2 separate regions of the Homo sapiens genome follow, and region 2 is linked to region 1. The links are contacts of gene promoters, found by promoter capture Hi-C in blood cells and fetal thymus (Javierre and others, 2016). All regions are on one chromosome and are shown on one strand. Each heading gives the region's core, a stretch centred on a gene start or on the middle of the fragment in contact. The rest is flanking DNA. Distances are from core to core; before and after follow the strand shown. Region 1 holds the start of SPP1 (secreted phosphoprotein 1). Region 2 has its middle 12 kb from the start of SPARCL1.

Region 1 (5,397 bases), core at 1,330-3,829:
TCAGAGAGAATGGATGTATAAGTTACATTTATAATTTTTAAAAACTAATATGAAGAAAATAAAGGTAAGCAAAATGAATAGACTAAAAACCACCCAGTAATCCTAACACTCACAGATAACCAGTGTGTATTTTCAGGCATATATCCTTAGAGACTTCCCCAATTTTTTACTAGCTTTAAGTTTCTGGGATTCTAGAAGGCTGAGCCTTGAGCTCTTCACGTATTTCTTAAATTGTTATAGCTCCACGTGCCTTCTAAAATGCATCTTTGCCATATTTTCGTTTATTAAAAAGACGCTAATTCTTGCCTCAAATAGTATGACCTCTATCTTCTCTGGAGATGTTAATTTTTCTGGTTTATTATTAGGATTCAACACCTGTATTTTCAAATCAGTTGAAAAACAGACACACACACCCCTCCACACACAAACGAACACAGAATACTTCTTTTAATGTCTTCATTAAGCAGTCTAATTGCAGTGACCCCCAAGGCAGCTCTATTTTGGCCTTTATTCTGTTCAACTGGAATTGAACTCTGTGTGCCTTTTTGTCCAAGCTTCTGGGGACAATGCCCATTTGTTGTTTGGCTGGCACAGTTTCATCTGTTGTGGAGGGGTAGGTACATCTTTAGTGCTGGTCAAATAATTATAATAAAGAGTTTGGTTGGTCTTATGTTTGGTTAGAAAATGTGATCTAACATCAGCTGACAATCACAATAGATACAAACAGCACACATAGACTTTCTTTTCACAATGGGCTTCTCAGCTAATATCTCAGACAATATTGTGAATATTATGGTCATACAAACAGTTCTGACTAATATCCAATGTGAATTTTAAACTTAGCAATCCACTAAACAAAGCAAAAGCTGGAATTTTCTGCTTTTAGATCAGTATGTGGACTAATGGAAAAAAAGTCACACAACTTCATATAACTTATCTTACATGCGATAACTCATCATACATGCCTAGATATTATTATATTTAAAATATCTGGGTTGGTTTTATAAACTTATATTTATTAAAAACTATACTGTGCTTGGTACTGGCCTAGATTCATAGCAGGCAGTCAATCAATACTTGTAAACCAATGGATTTGACTGAGAAGATAAGTAATATCGCAGCAAATACGTTTCTTGCACCTCTCGCCATAATTGAGTAAATGATTTAACTATATAAAAACATAAAAGATGCTTACCTGCTTTTCCTCAGAACTTCCAGAATCAGCCTGTTTAACCTTAGAAACAGAAAAGATGAAGAAAGATTACAAGAATGTCCTCCTAGCACATGGAAGCACACAATTCAGTTATTTTCAGGAATTTTCTTTAAGATGCAACTGTACTCACTGGTATGGCACAGGTGATGCCTAGGAGGCAAAAGCAAATCACTGCAATTCTCATGGTAGTGAGTTTTCCTGCAAAATATTTCATAAGGAATAGCTGACATCTTCATAGGTTACAACAGTGATACCTTTTTATACTACCACATTACAAAATGATCACAAATAAAATATATTTTCTATAGAATCTTTTCTACTTCTTAGAGATGCCTTTTCTTTTTAGTATTATAGTCTTTCAAGTTAATATTTATATTGCCACCTATTATCCATCTTTCACTATTAGGCAAGGGAAAGGGAAATTTTGCAAGTCTGTATTTATTCAACTTTAAAATTTAGAGTTCCAGAAATTATACCATTACTACCTTATATATCTAGCTCTCTAAACCTACAAACAGATCAACAGTAACTTAATTATATTAATAAGCTAGTATGGGAATATTTTTTAGAGAAGAAAAAACTCACAGAAAAAAATGAAAAAAATTTGCTTTATCCATTTTTCCAACATGTACTTTAAATGTGACTTTTAGCTTAATTATCAAGTAGGTGCTACTTAGGTGAAATCAAACTATCTCTGAAATTTGTTATTTAAGTAAGATGTTCTAAAAATTTGAAATTCAAAGGAAAACATTGAAAATAGCCAACAGCTTTTCTATTTGTAATAATAAGCCTACACAGTGTCATACAGGTATCTTGGTGAATATTTTAACAGCTAAATTTAGCAGTGGCATATTCAGAAAGGGTTTTCTTCCCCTTAAAAGTGAGATACATCATTTAAAAAATAGCATTGTAATTGGTTTAATTAGCATAAAAGATCCCTTTTCTTTTAAATTCCTGCACAGTCACCCACTGAAAATTATATAGGTATAATTATTCCAAAGGGGAATTTAATTTTACTATTTTCTGATTAGCATCGGTGGTTTCCGTTCTTTTGAGGACCCAGTGGAAGTATTTTTAAGTTTTAAATTTGATTGGCATTCAAAATATCTAGACACCTTTGTTCCAGGAGACCTGCAATGTATCTAATCTGCTTATTAAAAAGGCTAGAAAATTTAAGTCTGTTTAACAGCATTACAATTAAAAATATTTTTCCTTAGAATTTGGACTTCCCCATGAAATTCAGCTGAATGCACAACCCAGTAGCAAACTGAAGCTGTACCTTGGTCGGCGTTTGGCTGAGAAGGCTGCAACTGGCCTGAGACGAGTCTGGTCCCGACGATGCTGTGCTCTGCCTCCTCCTGCTGCTGCTGACAACCAAGCCCTCCCAGAATTTAAATGCTGCTGCAGACATCCTCCACCAACACAGGGAGGCGGAGAGATTGTGTCATGAGGTTTTCTGCCACTGCCCAGCCCACCTGCTCCCACACTTCCCCCTCTGGTTTTGTGGTTAAAACAAAAAAAAACAAAAACGCACACACACAATCTACAGTTAAAACATTACTTATGTACAATATCATTAACTAGCTTTTTCATTTACGGGATGGGCATTCAGCATCCAGGAAGAGCACTTAGGGATCCCATGAAAAAGGGAGAAAGTAGGGAAAAACATTAATGTAAAATTAAATAGAATGGATTTTTGTTTCTTTCGGTTTAAGTAACATAAAGGTAATATCTGCAACCACTCTTGCCTGTATGATTGTACTTATTGAAGAGCCAGAAGGCTATTGTTCAAGCCTGCAAGGAGTTCAGAAAACTTGCCTCTGTCCTTTACTACTCAAGCTTAGCTTTGTGATTTCGAGTATGCAGTAGCTTGTTACTTAGACAAATGGCACTAGTGACATTAAAATATAAAATTCTATATGAAATAGAAGAATGGTAATTTATTCTAGATGTTGCAGAAGTAAAGCAGTTTCTGACTGAGAGCAGGATGACTGCTTGAGAGGGCTGCTTCAGGAGCCAGACCGTGGTTCTGAATTCCGCTGTGTCACTGCTGACCTGTGCAACCTTGGGCAAATCGCCCAGCCTACCTATCCTTGTTCCCTCATCCATGAAATGCAATACTATTACCTAGGTCATGGGGTTTTTGAGGGGTTTAAATGAATTAGTATGTTAAACTAGCAATGCTTAGCACATATTAGATGCAAATGCTCTGCGTATCTTAAGGACTATATGTGTGTTAACTATTATGAAATTTTTAAGAGGGGCAGGCAGTCACGAATTGTAATGTCCTTTAAAAGAACAGGTTATTAAAATGAGAGTAGACGTAAGATCTTTAAATTGTATGCATCAATAAGGAAATTTTGCACATTTCTAAAGGAACAGATTCGATTTTGGAATCATCTTTTTTTCTAGTTTTTCTCCCAAGGTATGTAAAGTAGGCCACTTAAAAAGAAAAACATTTTTAAAAATTTCTGTATTAAAAAACACTTTACTAGGTATTTAAAAGGTGTCTGAATGAAAGAAAATTACAGGGAAAGTCCGAATATTAGAGCAGAATTCAGGGATAGCAGAGCTCTGGGTCCTTTTAAAATATTTAATATTGCCTTGAGATTACTTATCTTCATTTGCTTTCTCAGTTGTGAAATGCAGATTGCACTATTTATTTACCTTACACCTTTATTGTTAAGACTTGTGTGTAATTGAGATGAAAAATAAATGGTCCTATTTATTATTAGGTTGCTGCAAAAGTAATTGTGGTTTTTATTAGTCCTAAAGTGTCAGCTTCCTTTTGCCAAATATTACTTTTAATATAAATATAGATTAAATAATGTCTTGCAGTGATAGTGTATAGCTAATTCATAGGTTTCATGAACATTTGGTAGGGGGAAATATGTCTCCCTTAAATTGGATGTATTCCAGATGAATTGATATGATTGGTTTGTAGGTAATAAGCACCCATTTTAATAAGTAAGATGACGACTATCTCTATAAAATAGAAAGCACACAGATTATAAAGTTGCAAAATAGACTTCTTTTTTCTGCTTCTAAAAACTATTTTTTTCCTTTAAACATACCCGCATAAGCGTGTCATGTTGTCAATTTAGTGGAGGGAAGTCTGAAAATTCTAAAAACAACAAAATTTCCACAGGATTTACTGTAGTTTACTCTGTGCCCACGGGAATGATTCAATATGAAGCTAGAATTAATTATAGGAATAGATTATGCTGGAGCCCAGCCATCTTGAGATGAACCATACGACCCTTTACAGGACTCTTCTGGTCATAGCTCCGCAGTGCCACACGATGGCAGCATTTCTGAAAAAAGATTTCAGACCACAATCTGGTTCTACCAATTTTCTTAATTCCAGCGGGATAGAACACTCCTGTATTTAATGACAGGACTATATACAGCTGTGGAGCTCTCCATTTCTTGGAATGCCAGGTGAGGAAATATTTCCCAACAATGACCCGCTATGCAATCAGGGACAGAGACCCAGAGAACCAAAGCGTTCTTGTTTTGCTCTGTTGTTGCCTTAGGCAATCCCAAGTTGACACTATTGTCTCCTTCCCGACTTCTACACTCATTCAAAAAGTTCCTAGTCCCAAGGCCTCTCTCAGAGAAAAGGCTTGTGAATTCACGGGTAAAGAATGTGTCTGGGATGCTTTGGAGTTGAGAAGATAAAGTGATTTATAATGGGAGGCAATTCTGTAAAGTAGGAAATGGATGCTGCGTCATTCTGACTATCGGGGAGGTCATGTTTTGGGATGTTTCTTGCTGTTTGCACTCAAACATGCTGCTGCTGGTTGTTTTTTCTGAGTAGGATTTTCTGTCAGAATTAACATGTTAAATGATTTAAATCACAGTGGCTCTATCTGTAATATTTCCAAAGTTTCCATTCTTGATTGGCTAATGATTGGTTGTTAGAATCAAAAGGTCAAAATGCACAAATTCCCTATAAATCTTGTGAGTGGAAAGTAAAAAAAGTTTAGTTGTCAAACTAGAATGCAAAGAGTAATTTGTGATCTTAAATTATACACACTAAGAGGACACATGGAAACAAATAAAGAGCCTTAAGGTCTTTTTCCTGAATTACATGAAAATTCCCATATAATAAAAAGTAAGTGTTCAATGTCACTACTTTGGTGGACAACTTTATTAAACTCACTTCCAGTTTATTTGAACAT
Region 2 (5,397 bases), core at 1,286-3,785, 430 kb after region 1:
ATTTCTTCCAGTCAGGATTATGGTCTGATTGGACAGCTGAGAGGTGAAAGTTACCGTCTCTGTGAACACAGAAAGGGCAGATCCACATTCAGTCTTTGATCGTCAGCTGGAAAGGGAATGATAATTCAATTGACTATTGTTCAGGATGGAGCTTTCTTCATTCTGCTGGAGAAAGAATGAATCCTTGGTCTCATTCATTTAAGGATGACTGTGGTTCATACTCCCCTCTTGTGGCCACTTCCAAGTATACTGGCCTGTACCCAGGAGCCCAGTAAGGCAAAAGAGATATCAAATTCCTTTATATATGTTAGTTAACCTAGGAATTGCTCATTCTTTTTTTCCTTCTAGAATGTCAGACCAGTTTTTAGAAATTGGCAGATGTTGAACAGCATGTTAAAACGAGGGTCAATTGAACATATTAAATCTTCATTGGTCAATATTTTTAAATGTTTAAAAGGCTCAATATTTGGGCCAAAGAGGGTAGACAAATCACGCAAATGCATGAGAATCCTGATGGTTCCTTACACATTACCCTTCCTGAAGTATGTTTGCCTTCTCTCAATTTGGTTCTCTTCAAGTAACACATCCATAGATTTGGAATTTTGGGGGCATGTGGGAAGGAATGATCTGGTGAATGAAGCAATCAATAGAGTTGCAAATGCTCATTTTACAAATATTTAAGTACTTGCCACTGTGGGGAATCAAGGTTATACAAGAAAATGATCCCTGGTGGGGCACAATGGTTCATGTCTGTAATCCCAGCACTTTGGGAGGCTCAGGGGGGAAGATCACTTGAGCTCAGGAGTTTGAGACCATCCTGAGCAACACAGGGAGACATCCATCCCTGGAAAAAAAAAATTTTTTTTAATTAGCCAGGCCTGGTGGCTTAAGCCTGTAGTCCCAGCTACTTGGAAGGCTGAGGTAGGAGGATCGCTTGAGCCTGGGAGGTCAAGGCTGCAGTGAGCCATGATTGGCCCATGGCACCCCAGCCTGGGTGACAGAGCAAGACCCTGAGGAAGGAAGGAAGGAAGGAAGGAAGGAGGGAGGGAGGGAGGGAGGGAGGGAGGGAAGGAAGAGAGAGAGAGAGAGAAAGAAAGAAAGAGAAAGAAAGGAAAGAAGGAAAGAAAGGAAAGGAGGAAGGAAGGATGGAAGGACAGAAGGAAGGAAGGGAAAGAAAGAAAGAGGGAAGGAAGGAAGAAAGAAAAAGAAAAGCAAGGAAAGAAAGAAGGAAAGAAAAGAAAGAAAGGAAAGGAGGAAGGGAGGAAGGAAGGATGGAAGGAAGGGAAAGAAAGAAGGAAGGAAGGAAGAAAGAAAGAAAAGAAAAGCAAGGAAAGAAAGGAAAGAAGGAAAGAAAAGAAAGAAAGGAAAGAAGGAAGGGAGGAAAGAAGGAAGGAAGGAAAGAAAAGAAAGGAAAGAAAGAAAGAAAAAAGAAAGAAGGAAGGAAGGAAAGAAAGAAAAAGAAAGAAAGAAAGAAAGAAAGAAGAGAAAGAAAGAAAGAAGAGAAAGAAAGAAAGAAGAAAGAAAGAAAGAAAGAAAGAAAGAAAGAAAGAAAGAAAGAAAGAAAGAAAAGAAAGAAAGAAAGAAAGAAAGAAAGAATCCCTGTTTGAAAATATTACCTAGTAAGGGATAGAGGACTCTGTATTACACAATGAAAAGTGAAAAATGCCAGAGAAAAAATTAAATGAATATGCTATTCCCCTATGACACAGGACAGAGCCAGAGATGGGAAGTGAAGGGCAAATGAGGGTGATGAGCCACTCCTTCCGAGCCAACTCGTCCTATCGCACTTGCTCTGAGCAGAGTGTTCCAAACACTTTATCAAAAATAATACGTTATTGAAGTTCAGAGAAAGAATAACCTCTTATCAGATATAGCAAAGAAGGATTCTTGGAAAGGAGACATCTAAAGTTCGACTTTGAAAGATTGGTAAGATTTAAACATGAAGGTTTCAGGCAGAAGAAGCCACCTTAGTCAAAGGAGTGAGGCAGAAAATTACAAAGTAAGTCAAGGAAAGGAGAAAAAGTTGATGTTCACATAAGTGAAGGGAAGATATTACATAAAGTGGCAGATGGCTTTAAAATGCCTGGCTCACGAGTTTAGAATTGACTTGGTAGGCAGTGGGAAGCTATTGAAAACTTTTAAGCAGGAGAGGAACATGATGTGAATTACACTTTGAGAGGGTGAAATTGTTTAAAATAGTGTTTAAGATAGATTGGGTTGGAAAGAGAAGGAAGTCTCTGGAACTGTGCTCAAAGCTTAGTGTTCAGTGGCCCAGCCCAGCTCACAGACCCGTTTTATTTGGCACAAAGACTATTGGTCAATATTTAATAATCCCATAAAATGTTAGATTTCTGGTTTCTCTCTAAAACAGTAAAATGATCAGACAATGTTGGGCTGCCATTTCCCTGTGACAATAAAGCTACAAGAATTGAGTAGCAGCTGCCACCTTCAGATGGACTACATATTTTCCATTTCCCAAGTCCCATGCACCCCCTCTTGTCTTCCTAACACAAAGGCCATGTGTCAGCTGCCAGTCATCCCTGCCTGTGTTGGGAGAGTGTCGTTTTCTTACTTCGGGCCCCCTTCGTTAATTTCTGTGGCCTCCCTGGCCCTTGAGGGCAATTTGCATTTGTGAATGTGAGTCCAGAGGTAGGGAAAACAGTCAGACGTGAAGTGATTGGGGCTTTCATCAGGGATTAGAGCATAGGAATGAAAAAGGGCATGTGCAGGAAATATTTGTCCTGTGCTTTTACAGATCTCAACCAACTTTAGCACACAACATGAGAAGCGCTAACAACATGGACAAAAAGCTTATAATTATAAAGATTTTTACTGCATTTCCTCCGAAAAGTAACTGTAATGTATTCAAAAAGTTATTCTTCTGTGTTCTTTTATAAATGTTTGTAGAGTAATGAATGCTGTTATAAATATTATATCAAGTTCTTAGAAAATCATTCATGACTCAGTTTCTCCAGCTATAAATTGTAATTGCCAATGAATTACCCCATAGTAAATTGTGTTTTTTTCAGGCATGAGATGTGTTTCAGTCAATTGGTGAGGATCATTAGTAAAAGGGCAAAATTGGTTCAGGGGTAGCTAGAATTCTATTCTTTTATATATAAAACACAGATACAGATAATATTATATAAATAGATATACGGTGTATCTGGAGTATTAAAATTTCATGGTGGGAGGAGACATTCAGGAAAAAAATGTTCAAAAAGCTCCTTGGGGGAGTGACAATGAAAAGAAATTTTTAAGAAATACTGAGCTAGCGAGGACAGGCATTGTGCAAATCATTCATTTTTGTCTCATTTCAAGTTGCCAGCCAGTTAATGCCAATGTAGACTCTAAACAGTCCGAATTTGGCTCGCCTAACATTTGCTAGAGACAAAGCCTCAGCTGCATCCCTGACGTTGTACAATCAGACCACGCAAAATCTAACAAACCCATTGCTCCTTCACAAGGGAAATATCAACAAAAATACAAATACCGTTGCTCAAAACCAACAAGAAAACACAACCATTGGAGCAAATTTCCAGAATAGGCTTTGCGTCATTGCACAAGCAGTACTTCTTAGTCTAAAACATCTTGCTCTGGGAACTGAACACTACAGCCAAGAAAACATCAGACATTTGGAGAAGAGCGGCGTTTGGCTAATAACAGCAAAGTGACCTCACCCATGAGAAGGCCCAAGTATAAACTTCTGTCTTGGTGAATAAGACGCAGCCTGCAAGTCAAATGCACAGAAATATAAAGTTCAGCTGCACCTCACTTGGACAAGAGATCTGTACACCAGGCGATTTGATACATTGGGTTCTGTGTCTATCCCAAGGTGAGGTCAGAATGAAAGAGTAGCTACATAGCTCATGCGGTTATTACCCAGCCAACCCAAATTCTCCCAAACTCAATGAGGGCTCTGTCTGAGAAAAGACAACGGCATAAAACTCAAGGAATTTATGTGAGCAGCTGCTGTGTTTGCATAGCTTGACTAAAGGGATATGTTTCACCCCTCTGCCTAAAAATCGTCATTCTTCACATATAGTATTAGCAGTTCATGTGAAAAGAGGAGGCGTTCTATATCCTATTACAGAGGTTCCTTGACACAATCTTCAACAATATTCAGCTTTCTTTCTTTTTTTTATTTTATTATTATTATGCTTTAAGTTTTAGGGTACATGTGCACGATGTGCAGGTTAGTTACATATGCATACATGTGCCATGCTGGTGTGCTGCAGCCATTAACTCGTCATTTAGCATTAGGTATATCTCCCAGTGCTATCCCTCCCCCCTCCCCGCACCCCACAACAGTCCCCAGAGTGTGCTCTTCCCCTTCCTGTGTCCATATGTTCTCATTGTTCAGTTCCCACCTATGAGTGAGAATATGCGGTGTTTGGTTTTTTGTTCTTGCGATAGTTTACTGAGAATGATGATTTCCAATTTCATCCACGTCCCTATAAAGGACATGAACTCATCATTTTTTATGGCTGCTAGTATTCCATGGTGTATATGTGCCACATTTTCTTAATCCAGTCTATCATTGTTGGACATTTGGGTTGGTTCCAAGTCTTTGCTATTGTGAATAATGCCACAATAAACATACGTGTGCATGTGTCTTTATAGCAGCATGATTTATAGTCCTTTGGGTATATACCCAGTAATGGGATGGCTGGGTCAAATGGTATTTCTAGTTCTAGATCCCTGAGAAATCACCACACTGACTTCCACAAGGGTTGAACTAGTTTACAGTCCCACCAACAGTGTAAAATTGTTCCTATTTCTCCACATCCTCTCCAGCACCTGTTGTTTCCTGACTTTTTAATGATTGCCATTCTAACTGGTGTGAGATGGTATCTCATTGTGGTTTTGATTTGCATTTCTCTGATGGCCAGTGATGGTGAGCATTTTTTCATGTGTTTTTTGGCTGCATAAATATCTTCTTTTGAGAAGTGTCTGTTCATGTCCTTCACCCACTTTTTGATGGGGTTGTTTGTTTTTTTTCTTGTAAATTTGTTTGAGTTCATTGTAGATTCTGGATATTAGCCCTTTGTCAGATGAGTAGGTGGCGAAAATTTTCTCCCATTTTGTAGGTTGCCTGTTGAGAAAAACAAGCAATGGGGAAAGGATTCCCTATTTAATAAATGGTGCTGGGAAAACTGGCTAGCCATATGTAGAAAGCTGAAACTGGATCCCTTCCTTACACCTTACACAAAAATTAATTCAAGATGGATTAAAGACTTAAACGTTAAACCTAAAACCATAAAAACCCTAGAAGAAAACCTAGGCATTACCATTCAGGACATAGGCATGGGCAAGGACTTCATGTCTAAAACACCAAAAGCAATGGCAACAAAAGCCAAAATTGACAAATGGGATCTAATTAAACTAAAGAGCTTC

The links. The method cuts DNA at HindIII sites, captures the fragments that hold promoters and counts their contacts. A CHiCAGO score of 5 or more calls a contact.
Region 2: a fragment that was not itself captured here is called in contact with the fragment with the promoter of SPP1 in region 1 in 2 of 17 cell types (endothelial precursors and megakaryocytes); the score reaches 7.8 in endothelial precursors.

The regions. Positions count from the first base shown.
Region 1 is chr4:87,972,896-87,978,292 of GRCh38, reverse strand. SPP1 (secreted phosphoprotein 1) reads right to left here and starts at 2,579. Exons shown (of 7, transcript NM_001040058.2): 1 at 2,493-2,579; 2 at 1,344-1,411; 3 at 1,196-1,234. The coding sequence starts at 1,397. LOC124900730 (a long non-coding RNA gene) reads left to right here and starts at 4,524. Exons shown (of 2, transcript XR_007058172.1): 1 at 4,524-4,654. RefSeq lists cis regulatory regions at 2,584-2,593, 2,628-2,637, 2,812-2,827, 3,265-3,273, 3,340-3,348 and 1 more, enhancers at 2,606-2,676, 2,439-2,938, 3,301-3,321 and promoters at 2,493-2,706, 2,496-3,583, 2,583-4,825. The HindIII fragment of the contact is 2,498 bases long and covers 557-3,054 here.
Region 2 is chr4:87,538,848-87,544,244 of GRCh38, reverse strand. No RefSeq gene overlaps it. Among named protein-coding and RNA genes, the nearest start is that of SPARCL1, 12 kb to the right of the region's middle. The HindIII fragment of the contact is 555 bases long and covers 2,258-2,812 here.